3 separate regions of the Homo sapiens genome follow, and regions 1 and 3 are each linked to region 2. Evidence: promoter capture Hi-C in human tissues and cell types (Jung and others, 2019). All regions are on one chromosome and are shown on one strand. The core of a region is centred on a gene start or on the middle of the fragment in contact, and the rest is flanking DNA. Distances in the headings are between cores, read along the strand shown.

What was found. Contacts are between HindIII fragments. The study calls those that stand out against the background at their distance.
Region 1: a fragment that was not itself captured here is called in contact with the fragment with the promoter of ZC3H7A in region 2 in 1 of the 25 tissues and cell types used here (H1 embryonic stem cells).
Region 3: a fragment that was not itself captured here is called in contact with the fragment with the promoter of ZC3H7A in region 2 in 3 of the 25 tissues and cell types used here (IMR-90 fibroblasts, aorta and lymphoblastoid cells).

What each region holds. Positions count from the first base shown.
Region 1 is chr16:12,074,763-12,079,277 of GRCh38, forward strand. SNX29 (sorting nexin 29) reads left to right here. Exons shown (of 21, transcript NM_032167.5): 11 at 4,071-4,153. Among named protein-coding and RNA genes, the nearest start is that of SNX29, 100 kb to the left of the region's middle. RefSeq lists an enhancer at 617-1,167. The HindIII fragment of the contact is 5,487 bases long and covers 1-4,209 here.
Region 2 is chr16:11,795,643-11,800,050 of GRCh38, forward strand. ZC3H7A (zinc finger CCCH-type containing 7A) reads right to left here and starts at 1,616. Exons shown (of 23, transcript NM_014153.4): 1 at 1,482-1,616. RefSeq lists silencers at 848-1,007, 1,490-1,899 and an enhancer at 1,315-1,852. The HindIII fragment of the contact is 23,320 bases long and covers 1-4,408 here.
Region 3 is chr16:11,537,470-11,541,981 of GRCh38, forward strand. No RefSeq gene overlaps it. Among named protein-coding and RNA genes, the nearest start is that of LITAF, 47 kb to the right of the region's middle. The HindIII fragment of the contact is 8,104 bases long and covers 1-4,512 here.

The sequences.
Region 1 (4,515 bases), core at 216-2,715, 280 kb after region 2:
CCAACTTGGTTCCATTCTCCCCGTCACTTTCAGGTACACCAATCAGATGCAGATTTGGTCTTTTCATATAGTCCCATATTTCTTGGAGGCTTTGTTCGTTTCTTTTTATTCTTTTTTCTCTCAAATTCCCTTCTCACTTCATTTCATTCATTTCATCTTCCATCACTGATACCCTTTCTTCCAGTTGATCGCATCGGCTCCTGAGGCTTCTGCATTCTTCACCTAGTTGTCGAGCCTTGGCTTTCAGCTCCATCAGCTCCTTTAAGCACTTCTCTATATTGGTTATTCTAGTTATACATTCGTCTAAATTTTTTCAAAGTTTTCAACTTCTTTGCCTTTGGTTTGAATTTCCTCCTGTAGCTCAGAGTAGTTTGATCATCTGAAGCCTTCTTCTCTCAACTCGTCAAAGTCATTCTCCGTCCAGCTTTGTTCCGTTGCTGGTGAGGAACCGTGTTCCTTTGGAGGAGGAGAGGTGCTCTGCTTTTTAGAGTTTGCAGTTTTTCTGCTCTGTTTTTTCCCCATCTTTGTGGTTTCATCTACTTTTGGTCTTTGATGATGGTGATGTACAGATGGGTTTTTGGTGTGGATGTCTTTTCTGTTTGTTAGTTTTCCTTCTAACAGACAGGACCCTCAGCTGCAGTCTGTTGGAGTTTGCTAGAGGTCCACTCCAGACCCTGTTTGCATGGGTATCAGCAGCGGTGTCTGCAGAACCAGGGATTTTCGTGATCCGCGAATGCTGCTGTCTGATCGTTCCTCTGGAAGTTTTGTCTCAGAGGAGTACCCAGCCGTGTGAGGTGTCAGTCTGCCCCTACTGGGGGATGCCTCCGAGTTAGGCTGCTCAGGGGTCAGGGGTCAGGGACCCACTTGAGGAGGCAGTCTGCCCGTTCTCAGATTTCCAGCTGCGTGCTGGGAGAACTACTGCTCTCCTCAAAGCTGTCAGACAGGGACATTTAAGTCTGCAGAGGTTACTGCTGTCTTTTTGTTTGTCTGTGCCCTGCCCCCAGAGGTGGAGCCTACAGAGGCAGGCAGGCCTCCTTGAGCTGTGGTGAGCTCCACCCAGTTCGAGCTTCCTGGCTGCTTTGTTTACCTAAGGGAGCCTGGGCAATGGTGGGTGCCCCTCCACCAGCCTCGCTGCCGCCTTGCAGTTTGATCTCAGACTGCTGTGCTAGCAATCAGCGAGACTCCATGGGTGTAGGACCCTCCGAGCCAGGTGCGGGATATAATCTCCTCACGCGCTGTTTCCTAAGCCCTTCGGAAAAGCGCAGTATTTGGGTGGGAGTGGCCCGATATTCCAGGTGCCGTCTGTCACCCCTTTCCTTGAACAGGAAAGGGAACTCCCTGACCCCTTGCGCTTCCCGAGTGAGGCAATGCCTCACCCTGCTTTGGCTGGTGCATGGTGCGCTGCACCCACTGTCTGGCACTCCGTAGTGAGATGAACCCAGTGCCTCAGATGCAAATGCAGAAATCACCCATCTTCTGCGTCACTCACGCTGGGAGCTGTAGACTGGAGCTGTTCCTATTCGGCCATCTTGGCTCCTCCCTTTTTTTTTTTTTTTTTGAGACAGTCTTACTCTGTCGCCCAGGCTGGAGTGCAGTGGCACCATCTTGGCTCACTGCAACATCCGCCTCCTGGGTTCAAGTGATTCTCCTGCCTCAGCCTCCCAAGTACCTGGGATTACACATGTCCACCACCATGCCCGGCTAATTTTTGTATTTTTCAGTAGAGACGGAGTTTCGCCATGTTGGCTAGGCTGGTCTCGACCTCCTGACCTCATGTGATCCGCCTGCCTTGGCCTCCCAAAGTGCTGGGATTCCAGGCGTGAGCCACCACGCCCAGCCTGGTCATAACATTTTTATGTAGCCTGGGTGACAAAGCGAGACCCTGGATGCTTGGTGGCAGAACTGAAATGGACACCAAAGTCTTATGCCACTGCCATCCTTGCTGCTATTACCGTTTTCTTCTTCTGTCTCTCCTCTTGGCTGTAATTTGGGGTCCCAGGGTGCTATTACATCCTTATTTTCAAACCTAGCTCTAGAGTGGAACTTCCTGACTACCGTAAACCATATTAGATGCCATGGTCTTACCTGGAACAGTCAAGGGTTCTGCTCTCTCAAAATGACATTGCTTGTAGGAAGCTTGTCGCAGTTAGTTCAGTGTCAGAAGGAATTGGTGTTGCCAGACCCTTCCAGGGGGTGGAGTCTTTTTTTGCTATTTATTTTAGAAAATGTGACTAGGCATGGTGGCCCATGCCTGTAATCTCAGCACTTTGGGAGGCCAAGGTGGGAGGATTACTTGAGGCCGGGAGTTCAACACCACCAGTCTGGGCAAGTGAGACCCTGTCTTTACAAATAAAACAACAACAAAAATTATCCAGATGTGGTGGTGCATGCCTGTAGTGTCAGCTACTTGGGAGACTGATGTGGGAAGATCACTTGAACCCAGGAGTTCAAGCCTTCAGCGAGCTGAGATTGCACCACTGCACTCCAGCCTAGTTAACGGAGTGAGAACCTGTCTTAAAAAAAAAAAAATTGGAAAATGCAACAGTAAATGAAAAAAGAAAATCAGTCTTAACCCTCAACTTCATTATGTTGTTGATGTTTTGGTACTTTTCCTCCTAGTCATGGTGTGTGTGTGTGTGTGTGTGTGTGTGTGTGTGTGTGTGTGTATCTCTGTTAACCATGTGATGACCGTGCTGTTCTCACCAAAGACACTAAACTTTATTTTTCATGTTGTAAATTATTTGTAAACATACAGTTGATTCTTATTATTCCCAGTAGTTGTATTCTATAAAGTTGCTATGAAGACTGAACCAGTGCTCCTAGGGGAAGTACATGGTTAAGTTGCTTTGAGGCTCTGGTCACACATTTTGTTTTTGAGATGAACTGTTGCTCTTTTGCCCGGGGCTGGAGTGCAGTGGCGTGATCTTGGCTCACTGCAACCTCTGTTTCCTGGGTTGAAGTGATTCTCCTGCCTCAGCCTCCCAAGTAGCTGGGATTACAGGCATGTGCTACCACACCCAGATAATTTTTGTATTTTTAGTAGAGAAGGGGTTTTGCCATGTTCGCCAGGCTGGTCTCGAACTCCTGACCTCATGTGATCCACCCGCCTCGGCCTCCCAAAGTATTGCGATTACAGGCATGAGCCACCACACCTGGCCTGGTCACAGCATTTTTATCAACTGATCAACACATAACCTGGTTTTATGTCTGTTCCTGTTTAAAGACACCTTGTTTAATGTATGCAGTTGATTCATTAACATTGAATTCACAGCCAGCAGCACTGTAAGCCATGCCTGAATGAAGCATCTCTAACTCACAAATTATCTCCATACGGCACATCACAGCCTTCCTGTGCTTAGGAACTGTCGGCAGTACCACTTCAGCACTGTGCTTGGGGACATTTTAAACAATAAAATCAAGTGGAAAAAAAGGCCGGGTGTGGTGGGTCATGCCTGTAATCCCAGCACTTTGGGAGGCTGAGGCAGGTGGATCACTTGAGGTCAGGACTTTGAGACCAGTCTGGCCAACTTGGCGAAACCCCATTTCTAGTAAAAATACAAGAATTAGTCGGGTGTGGTGGTGCGGGCCTGTAATCCCAGCTACTTGGGAGGCTGAGGCACAAGAATCGCTTGAACCCAGGAGGTGGAGGTTACAGTGAGCCGAGATCACGCAAAAGAAAGAAAAGTGGAAAAAAAAATGCTAAAAACATGGCAGTAAATAGACAGCAAAGAGGATGCTTGTTTACGGTGTGAGATCTGAGGTCCCAGCTGTTCGACTTCAGCTGAGATTATGCACATTAGGGAGTGAAATTATTGGCCTCTGCACGTGTTCATGAATGATTGTGAAAGCACCTCAAGTATTGACTTTGGGGTTACAAATAAATTTTAGTGCGTAGATGAATTTCCAAATACGGAATCTGCAGATAACGAGGCCTGACTAATTTCCAATGACTGCCTCTATCCCTTCTAGTAGAGGTACCGGAGTAAACCGACCTCTGCTAGTTTTTGGAATGGTGAGGGTGTGTACTTTCAGTGGCCGAGTGTAACTTCCTCCTGCCTGCTTTTTCCTAGTGTGGAAGCCAGCTCTCCAGGCCACGGAAGTCCTCTGAGCAGCCTGTTACCTTCTGCCTCAGTGCCAGAGTCCATGACAATTAGTAAGTACTTTCGCAGCCCCCTCCACCAGCTCTGGGATGACTTCTGGCCCACGTCTCATGGCGGTGCCTTTGTGCTTCTAACCCTGTGACTGTGGGTTCACGTCAGGTGTGTACGTCCCTGGTTGTAGACTGGAGGTGTGGTACGTGCTTGTGGATATCCAGAACCGTGGTTAATGCGTGGCGCTTGGGCGTGTGCGCGCTAAAGGGCGTGCCTCAGGATGGAGCAGCCTTGCCGTAGACTTCTGTGGTTCCAGGTTTTGGGGTTTGCCTCCCATAATGCAGTTAGCTACAGAGGACCTATTCTAGTTGGATTTCCTTTGTAACTCTGAAGGACTCATTTTTGTAAGTGAAGAAGAATATGT
Region 2 (4,408 bases), core at 366-2,865:
CCAGGCTGGTCTCGGAATTCCTGACCTCAGGTGATCCACACACCTCGGCCTCCCAAAGTGCTGGGATTACAGACGTTGAGCCACCCCGCCCGGCCCGTATATGTCATTTTAAATTTCCAAATAGCCACACTAAAAAAAGAGAAAAAGAAAAGCAGTGAGATTAACTTTTGTTTTTTTATTTGTTTGTTTTGAGACAGTGTCCCAGGCTGGAGCACAAAGGCACAATCTCAGCTCACCGAAGCCTCAATCTCCTGGGCTCAAGGGATTCTCCCACCCCAGCCTTCCGAGTAGCAGATTCTCCCACCTCAGCTTCCCGAGTAGCTGACTACCGGCGTGCGCCACCACGCCCAGTTAATTTTTTGTATTTTTTGTAGAGACAGGGGTCTCACTATGTTGCTGAGGCTGGTCTTGAACTCCTGCACTCAAACGATCCTCCTGCCTCAGCCTCCCAAAGTTTTGGGATGACAGGCATGAGCCACTGCATCCTGCCAAGATTAATTTTAATGATCTATTTTCGTTAATCCAATTTGTCCCAAACATGACCATCTCAACATGCATTTAAGTATAAAAGATTACCAATGACATCTTTTACTTTCTTTCTCATCCGAAGTTTTTAAAATCAGATGTACGTTTCACAGCTGGGACCGCAACTGAAACTGGCCCCATTTCGTGGGCTCCATCGTCCCAAACGGCGGGGGGTCAGTGGCCACCGTACTGGGCATGGCAAGGTCCTTCGTGGTTCAATACCGAACACGGGCAACTCCTTTTCATCCCTAGACAGGTGGGGACAGGAAAATACCCAACTCCTGGCAAATCCACCCAGTCCCGACTCAGGCTCGACCTCGGAGGCCCCGGCCGGGCCTCAGGCGGCCCCACCCCTTTGCTGCCCAGGCCTGACCGGAAGCCCCGCTAATGGGAACTGACAGGTCCCGGTCCCGGTCCTCCCGGGCGGCGCCCCCGCCTCCGCGGACCCCAAGGCCTCTCCCCGCCCGGCCCAGGGCTGCACCCCGCGCGAAAAAATAAAAAAATCAGAAAGGGGGGTAAAAAAGACGGATGAGCCCCAAATTAATGCGCCAAGCTCTCCGCCGGCATCCTTCCCGCCCCCAAGCCCAAGACGCTGAATCGGGATCCCCGCGATCACCAGAGCAGACAGAAATAACCAAAAAAAAAATTTTTTTTTAGTGAAATCACCAAAAAGGAGACATTTTGCCGAGGGAATGGCAGGCAGAAGTGGGTCACGTTATTCTCGGTGGGGGAAGGGGACGGCGCGCCCACCCGTCCCTCCGCGCGCACAGGCCCCGGCCCGGCTCCTCTCAGGGTCCTCTCGGGTCCGCGGGCCCCGGACCCCGCCGCCCCTCCCCCGCCCCGCCCGCCGTCCGTTAACGGCCGCGCGCGAGCACGAGGCGGCGGCGCGCGCGGGGGGGGCGGGGGCGCGGGCGCGCGCGTTTCCTTCATGCCCGGCGGCGTCCCCCTACCCCTACCTGTGGGGACGACGCGCCGGCCGGCGGCAGAAGGCAGGCGGAGGCGGGCGGCGGCAGGCGGGCAGCGGTGGCGGCGGCGGCGGCGGGGCCTGGGTGCTCGCTCGCAGCTCTCCCTCGGTTAGCGGCGGCGGCAGCGGCTCGGTTGCGCCCGCGGCGGCGCCCTCTAGCGGCGGGAGGCCGCGCTTGCCGCCCGGGAGACGCCGCCATTGGCTGCGCCGGAGCTACGGGCTGGGGGCGGTGGCGCCACGTCTGACTGGGGGCAGGGACCTGGGCGCGCCGTTCAATCCGGAGCCCCGGCGTCGACGCGCGGCCCACTGGGTGAGCCAATGGGAAGGCCACGTTGCGCACTGGACGCGCTCGGACTCAAGACTGATTAACCAGCACCGGGGTTTTCTGGGGCCTCGCCTGGGCCGCGGCCTGAGCAGAAGCGCTAGGAGGTAGAACAGCGTCCAGCGGGGAGAGGAGCTAGAGTCGGCATCGGGAAGCCCACCCTGGAGCCTGCTTAGCTTGACGAGCCCTCAACCGGGGCGCCCTGCTCTGCGAAGAGTAACCCTGCATCCTCAGAACAACCGTGATTGTCTTCATTCCTACATATGAGGAACGGAGGCGCGGAGCCCCACGGCAGCCGGGGATCCAAAGACAGCCTCCCTCCAGTTCCATCTGCCGGCTCTTGGAAGGCCTGGATCCCTGTCCTTCAGGGCCCAGCCCAAATGCCGCCTCGTCCATCTGCATTTTACGGCCAGGTGCCCCGCTGCGGGCACGGCTTCTTGTAAAATGCTCAGCTCAGCAGTGGGCGAGGCAGGGTCCCTGCCCCATGGGATGGAGGGCGGAGATCAGGACCCACAAGAGCCCAAAGAAGACCATTTTGGTCGGTGAAGACCAAAGAAATTCAAGCAGGAGGATGTGACAGGAGCTTTTGGGAAAGCCTCTGAGGAGGTGACAGCCATGCAACCGTGTTCGGGGAAGTGTGCCGCAGGCAGAGGGGAAATGAGTGCAAAAGCCCTGAAGCTGGAGTTCGGTGTCTGGATAACAGGAAAGGCCTGCATAGCTGATGTGTGCCAGAGGGGAGAAAGATCTGTGACACAGGGGGGCCGCCATGTTTAATTTGGAGTTTTGTGTGGAAGGGGGTCATTCATTGAGTCTGAATTGGGAGTTCCGAGGTCTCATTTATATTTTAGAAAGTTCTCTCCTGCTACTATGCAGAGATTGGGCTGTAGGAGAGACAAGAGGGGAAGTGGGGACTCTAGCTACAGTAGCTCTTCCAGGGGTCTGGGTGACGTAGATTTACAAACCAGAGTATTAGCTCAGGCTGCCATGACAAAATACCCCAGACCAGGCAGCTTAGACAACAGGAATTTATTTTCTCACAGTTTTAGAGGCTGCAAATCTAAGGTCTGGGTGCCGGCAGGGCTGGTTTCTGGTGAGGCCTCTCTCCCTGGCTTGCAAACAGCTGCCTTCTCACTGTGTCCTCCTATGACCTTTTCTCTGTGAGCAGGAATCCCTGGTGTGTCTTCCTTTTTCTTACAAGAACAACAATTTTACTAGATTAGGGCCCCACCCTATGACTTCATTTAACCCCAGTGACTACCTAAAAGGCCGTATTCAAATAGTCGTATTAGGCCAGGCGCAGTGGCTCACGCCTGTAATTCTAGCACTTTGGGAAGCCGAGGCAGATGGATTGCCTGAGCTCAGGAGTTGGAGACCAGCCTGGGCAACACAATGAGACCCCGTCTTTACTAAAATACAAAAAATTAGCCGGGCATGGCGACGTGCACATGTAATCCCAGCTACTCGGGAGGCTGAGGCAGGAGAATCGCTTGAACCTGGGAGGCAGAGGTTGCAGTGAGCTGAGATCGCGCCATTGCACTCCATATTGGGCGAGAGAGAGAGTCTGTACCAAAAAAAAAAAAAAAAGTATAAGGGTCCTATGACTTCATTTAACCCTAATGACTGCCTAATATGCCTAATAGCCATATTAGGGTTAGAGCTTCAACATACGGACTCCGGGGTGGGTATGTGCGGAGCGGGGAGCGTTTCAGTCCGTAACACCAGGTAAGTGCTGCAACAGATATTGGAGAGCTGATGGGCTGTGGTTTTAGGGAAGCTCCTCTAAGAAAGGGGTGGATTATACCGGGCGCACTGGCTCACATCTATAATCCCAGCACTTTGGGAGGCCGAGGCAGGGGGATCACGAGGTCAGAAGTTCAAGACCAGCTTGGCCAACATGGTGAAACCCTGTCTCTACTAAAAATACAAAAATTAGCCAAGCATGGAGGCAGGCGCCTGTAATCCCAGCTCCTGGGGAGGCTGAGGCAGGAGAATCACTTGAACCTGGGAGGTGGAGGTTGTGGTGAGTCGAGATCGCGCCACTGTACTCCAGCCTGGGCGACACAGCGAGACTCCGTCTCAAAACAAAATAAGAAAAAGAAAGGGGTGGATTATTCTCGTGACCAGAGGCTGCTCATCATTCAGGCCTCAACTACAGTAGCCTCTCTTGGAGAGGCCTTCACTGACAGCCCATCTAAAAGTTGCTCACTAACACAGCGCCCTATCTGATCTTCCAAGCAGTCATCATGATCTGAAATGACCTCGTCTAGTCCTGTTGCCAGAAGGCTCAGGAGGTCTCTGGATACTGGTGACACCCCAGCCCCAGCCAGTTTCCAGGTTCTTGACACCTTGGAGAGAAAGAATTCAAGAATGAGTTGAATGAAGCAAAGGGCAAGAAGGTTTTTTTTTGTTGTTTGTTGTTTTTGTTTTTTTTGAGACAGGATCTCAGTCTGTCACCCAGGCTGGAGTACAGAGGCGCAATCATGGCTCACTGCAGTCTTGATCTCCCGGGCTCGGGTGATTCCCGCCACCTCAGCTTCCTGAGCAGCTGGGACTAGTACCACACCGGCTAAGTTTTTGGGGTTTTTTTTGTTTTTGTA
Region 3 (4,512 bases), core at 659-3,158, 260 kb before region 2:
AGATCAGTTGATTGCCAGGGGCTGGGAGTGGCAGGGAGAGGAGATTGAGAGTCGTCAACTAAAGGGTACGGGATTTTTGGTTTTGTTTTGAGACCATATCTCATTCTGTCACCCAGGCTGGAGAGCAGTGGTATGATTTCAGCTCACTGCAATCTCTGCCTCCCAGGTTCAAGCAATTCTCCTGCCTCAACCTCCTGAGTAGCTGAGATTATAGGCACCTGCCATCATGCCCGGCCAATTTTTGTATTTTTGTAGAGACAAGTCACCATGTTGGCCAGGCTAGTCTGGAACTCCTGACCATAGGTGATCTGCCCAGCTCAGCCTCCCAAAGTGCTGGGATTACAGGCGTGAACCGCCACACTTGGCCCGGGGTTTCTTTTTGAGCTGATGAAAATGCTAAACTTGATTGTGGTAATGGTTGCACAACTTTGTGAATATAATAAAAACCGATTAAATCATTATGCTTTAAAACTTTATGTTTTAGAGACAGGGTCTTGCTCCTGTTGCCCAGGCTGGAGTGCAGCGGTGCAATCACAGCTCACTGCAGCCTTGACCTCGGCGCGGCTCAAAAAATCCTCCTTCCTCAGCTTCCTCAGTAGCTGGGACTGCAGGCACGCACCACCACGCCCAACGACATTTTTAAGACAGAATCTCGCTCTGTCGCCCAGGCTGGAGTGCAGTGGCACGATCTCAGCTCACTGCAAGCTCCGCCTCCCAGGTTCACACCATTCTCCTGCCTCAGCCTCCCGAGTAGCTGGGACTACAGGCGCCCACCACCACGCCAGGCTAATTTTTTGTATTTTTAGTAGAGATGGGGTTTCACCGTGTTAGCCAGGATGGTCTTAATCTCCTGACCTCGTGATCCACCTGCCTCGGCCTCCCAAAGTGCTGGGATTACAGGCGTGAGCCACCGCGCCTGGCCCGTTTTTTTTTTTTTTTTTTTTTTTTTTTTTAAAGAGACCGAGTCTCACCTTGTTGTCCAGGTTGGTCTTCAACTTCTGGCCTACACCAACCCTCCCACCTTGGCCTCCCAAAGTGCTGGATTACAGGTGTAAGCCACCACGCCCGGCTGAATTGTACACTTTAAATGGGTGAATTGTGTGACATGTAGATAACATCTCAATAAAGCTATTGCCAAAGAAGCCAAAAAGTTCTTACCGCAAAGCCCTGTGTGAGTGGCTGTTATACAGCAGAGTCTACGATGGGGTCTGAAACCTTCTCCCTGCGTTAGGAGGCCTGCCTCTCCCGGCACTTTTCCCATTTCTTGGCTACTCAGAGATGCACCAGCCACTTCACCTGTGGCTCAGCTCTATAATCGACCCCTGCTTCCAATCCCCACGTCCTCCAAGCAGAAATACGCCTGCCCAGGATCACAGGTACCCTAGCTGCTAAGGCCTCCGTGGTAATGAGCCCTTATGTAAAGACGACAGCCCCGTGCCCAGTCCCCTTCCTGCCCTTGCTTCCAGGGAATGGGCCCTATTAGCCATGCCCTGAGCAGGACACACGTGCAGCCCTAGATCTGTAGACGCAAGACTCACTCCAAAGATGGGATTCTCAGCTCAGGGAGGGAGGGAGGCAGCCCCCAGGGCCCACCGGTGGAAGGAATGTGGGGGCCTTCGAATGACCTGCAAAGGTGGCTCCTGGCCCCATCCTCACCTGAGCCAGATGTGTGAATACAGACGCCCGCCCCTGGCAGCAGACAGTGGGAAGGAGACACAGGGGGCTGATTCTTGCAAAGTTGAGTGTCATTTCTTGGCTTGCTCTGCTCCTGCGTATCAAAGCTGACCACAGCCTGGTGCTCATTGAGACCTGTGTCTCAAGGGTTTCCTAGTTTACCGAAGAGCTGGCTCCGGTGGGCTGTAGGGCAAACGCACCTGAACGCAATAACCTGCGCACATCCTTAGGATGACCTGGATGGCAGACTCACCTGAATGTGAGTCCCAGCTACGGAATCCGGGAATGGCCAACCTGGAGATTTGTTTCCTGTCTATGAGAAACATCTGAGCCCCTGGCCCATCCCATGAAACACAGGCCCTCCAAGGGATGGAGGCTCTGAGTTTTAGGTTACATGAAGGTTGCCAGGTGGAGGTCGTTAAGGGGAGGGTGTTAAGTGAAAATGCTGAATAAACTGCATGCTGTTTGCAAGTGGCTGCAGTTTCCCTCTCCAGCCCACCAGCACCTGCACTCTCTCCCCTGTGTCTAAGTCCCGAATCAAACCCAATGTCTCCTTTGCTGGCTCTGCATTTCTTCTTCAGCCTCTTGAACTTGTTACCTCCCTAGTGAAACTAACAGGGTTTCAGCACAACATAGGCCAAAACAGCAAGCCCCTAGCATATTCCAGCATGTTCTGGAATGTTCCAGCAGGTACTGTCTTCTCCCCTAGACCTGTCCATTTCCCAACACAGACATTTAGCGCTGGAGGAATCAGCCTACCTCTTCTTCGAAAGGAGAGGAACTCGGTGTGGGAAGCTCAAATGAGTTGTCCCAGCCCTGCAGCAGGTTGCAAGTAGCTCAGTCATGGTTCTTGATGAATCAAATGCTTTCACTTTACTTTCTTCCCTAATTCAACAAGCATGTCCTATACATTTTAACCCAACATTGTACTGGTTCCAAAGATGTTGATACTGAGGTCCTGTCCTCAGATTCTACCATTTGCTTTATAAGTATTATTTAATTATACATTATAGTCTTTTTTTTTTTTTTTTTTTTTTTGAGACAGAGTCTCGCTCTTGTTGCCTAGGCTGGAAAGCAATGGTGTGATCTCAGCTCACCACAACCTCTGCCTCCCAGGTTCAAGCAATTCTCCTGCCTCAGCCTCCCGAGTAGCTGGGATTACAAGCATGTGCTACCACGCCTGGCTAATTTTGTATTTTTAGTAGAGATGGAGTTTCTTCATGCTGGCCAGGCTGGTCTCGATCTCCCGACCTCAGTTGATCCGCCTGCCTTGGCCTCCCAAAGTGCTGGGATTACAGGTGTGAGCCACCGTGCCTGGCCATTATATTATAGTCTTAACACAGTTGGTAATGGTTACTACCTCACTGAAACCTCCATTCTGATTTACGCTGCATCCACAGTTCACTCTATCCTCATTTTACCAATTGTCACATGAAACAATACAAATTGGTGTATTTTCTTTGATCGAGGTGAGATTCACCTAGTACAATTAAACAATTTTACAGTGACCAATTCAGTGGCATCAGCACATCCACATTGTTGTACAACTGCCACCTCTATCTCGTTGCAAAACATTTTCTTTTTCTTTCTTTTTCTTTTTTTTTTTTTTTTTTTTTTGAGACAGGGTGTCACTCTGTCGTCCAGGCTGGAGTGCAGTGGCACAATCATGGCTCACTGCAGCCTTGACTTCCCAGGCTCAAGCGATCCTCCCACCTCAGCCTCCCCAGTAGCTGGGACTACAGGTGCCTGCCATTACACCAATCTATTTTTTTTTTTTTTTTGCATGTCTTTGTAGAGAGAGGGTTTCACCATGTGGCCCAGGCTGGTCTCAAACTCCTAGGCTCAAGCGACCCTCCTGCCTCGACCTCCCAAAGTGTTGGGATTACAGGCATGAGTCACCACGCCTGGACTGCAAAACATTTTCCTCACCCCCAAAGGAGACCCCAGATCCATGAAGCAGTCACTTCCCATTCTCCCCTCTTCCCAGCCCCTGACAACCACCAATTTGTCATCTGTATCTATGGATCACCTATTCTGCATATTTCACATAAATGGAATCATACAACAGGTGACCTTTGCTGCCTGGCTTCTTTCACGTGGCATAACGTTTCCAAGGCTCATCCACACTGTAGTATGTGTTAGTGCTGCATTCCTTGTTATGGAAATTGGTGTATTTTAACCATGTTTGGGTCAGTGACAGACACTCGATCCCCAAACATTGGAAATGTTTCCTTTGACCCATGCACTTTGCCCAGGTGTTCTCAATGAGGTGATTTGATTTTGTTTCTCCAGAGACATTTAGTGATGTCTGGAGTATTTTTTTTTTTTTTTTTGAGACAGAGTTTCACTCTTTCGCCCAGGCTGGAGTGTAGTGGCGCGATCTTGGCTCATCGCAACCTCTGCCCCCGGGTCCAAGCGATTCTCCTTGGCTCAGCCTGCCGAGTAGCTGGGATTACAGGCGCCCGCCACTACGCCCAGCTAATTTTTGTATTTTTAGTAGAGATGGGGTTTCATCATGTTAGCCAGGCTAGTCTCGAACTCCTGACCTCAGGTGATCCACCTGCCTTGGCCTCCCAGAGTGCTAAGATTACAGGCATGAGCCACTCTGCCTGGCCTGGAGTATTAATATTTTTGATTGTCACAACTGGGGACTGCTACTGGCATCTATCTCTGGGTAGAGGCCAGGGATGCTGCTACACATCTTCCAATGCACAGGATGGACTCAGAACAAGGAATGATCTACCCCAAGGTGTCAATAGTGCCAAGGTCAAGAACCCTGATTTCAGTTCCTTCTGTCTGGCTGATCTGATCCCCAGGCCCCATGGAACAACATTTCTT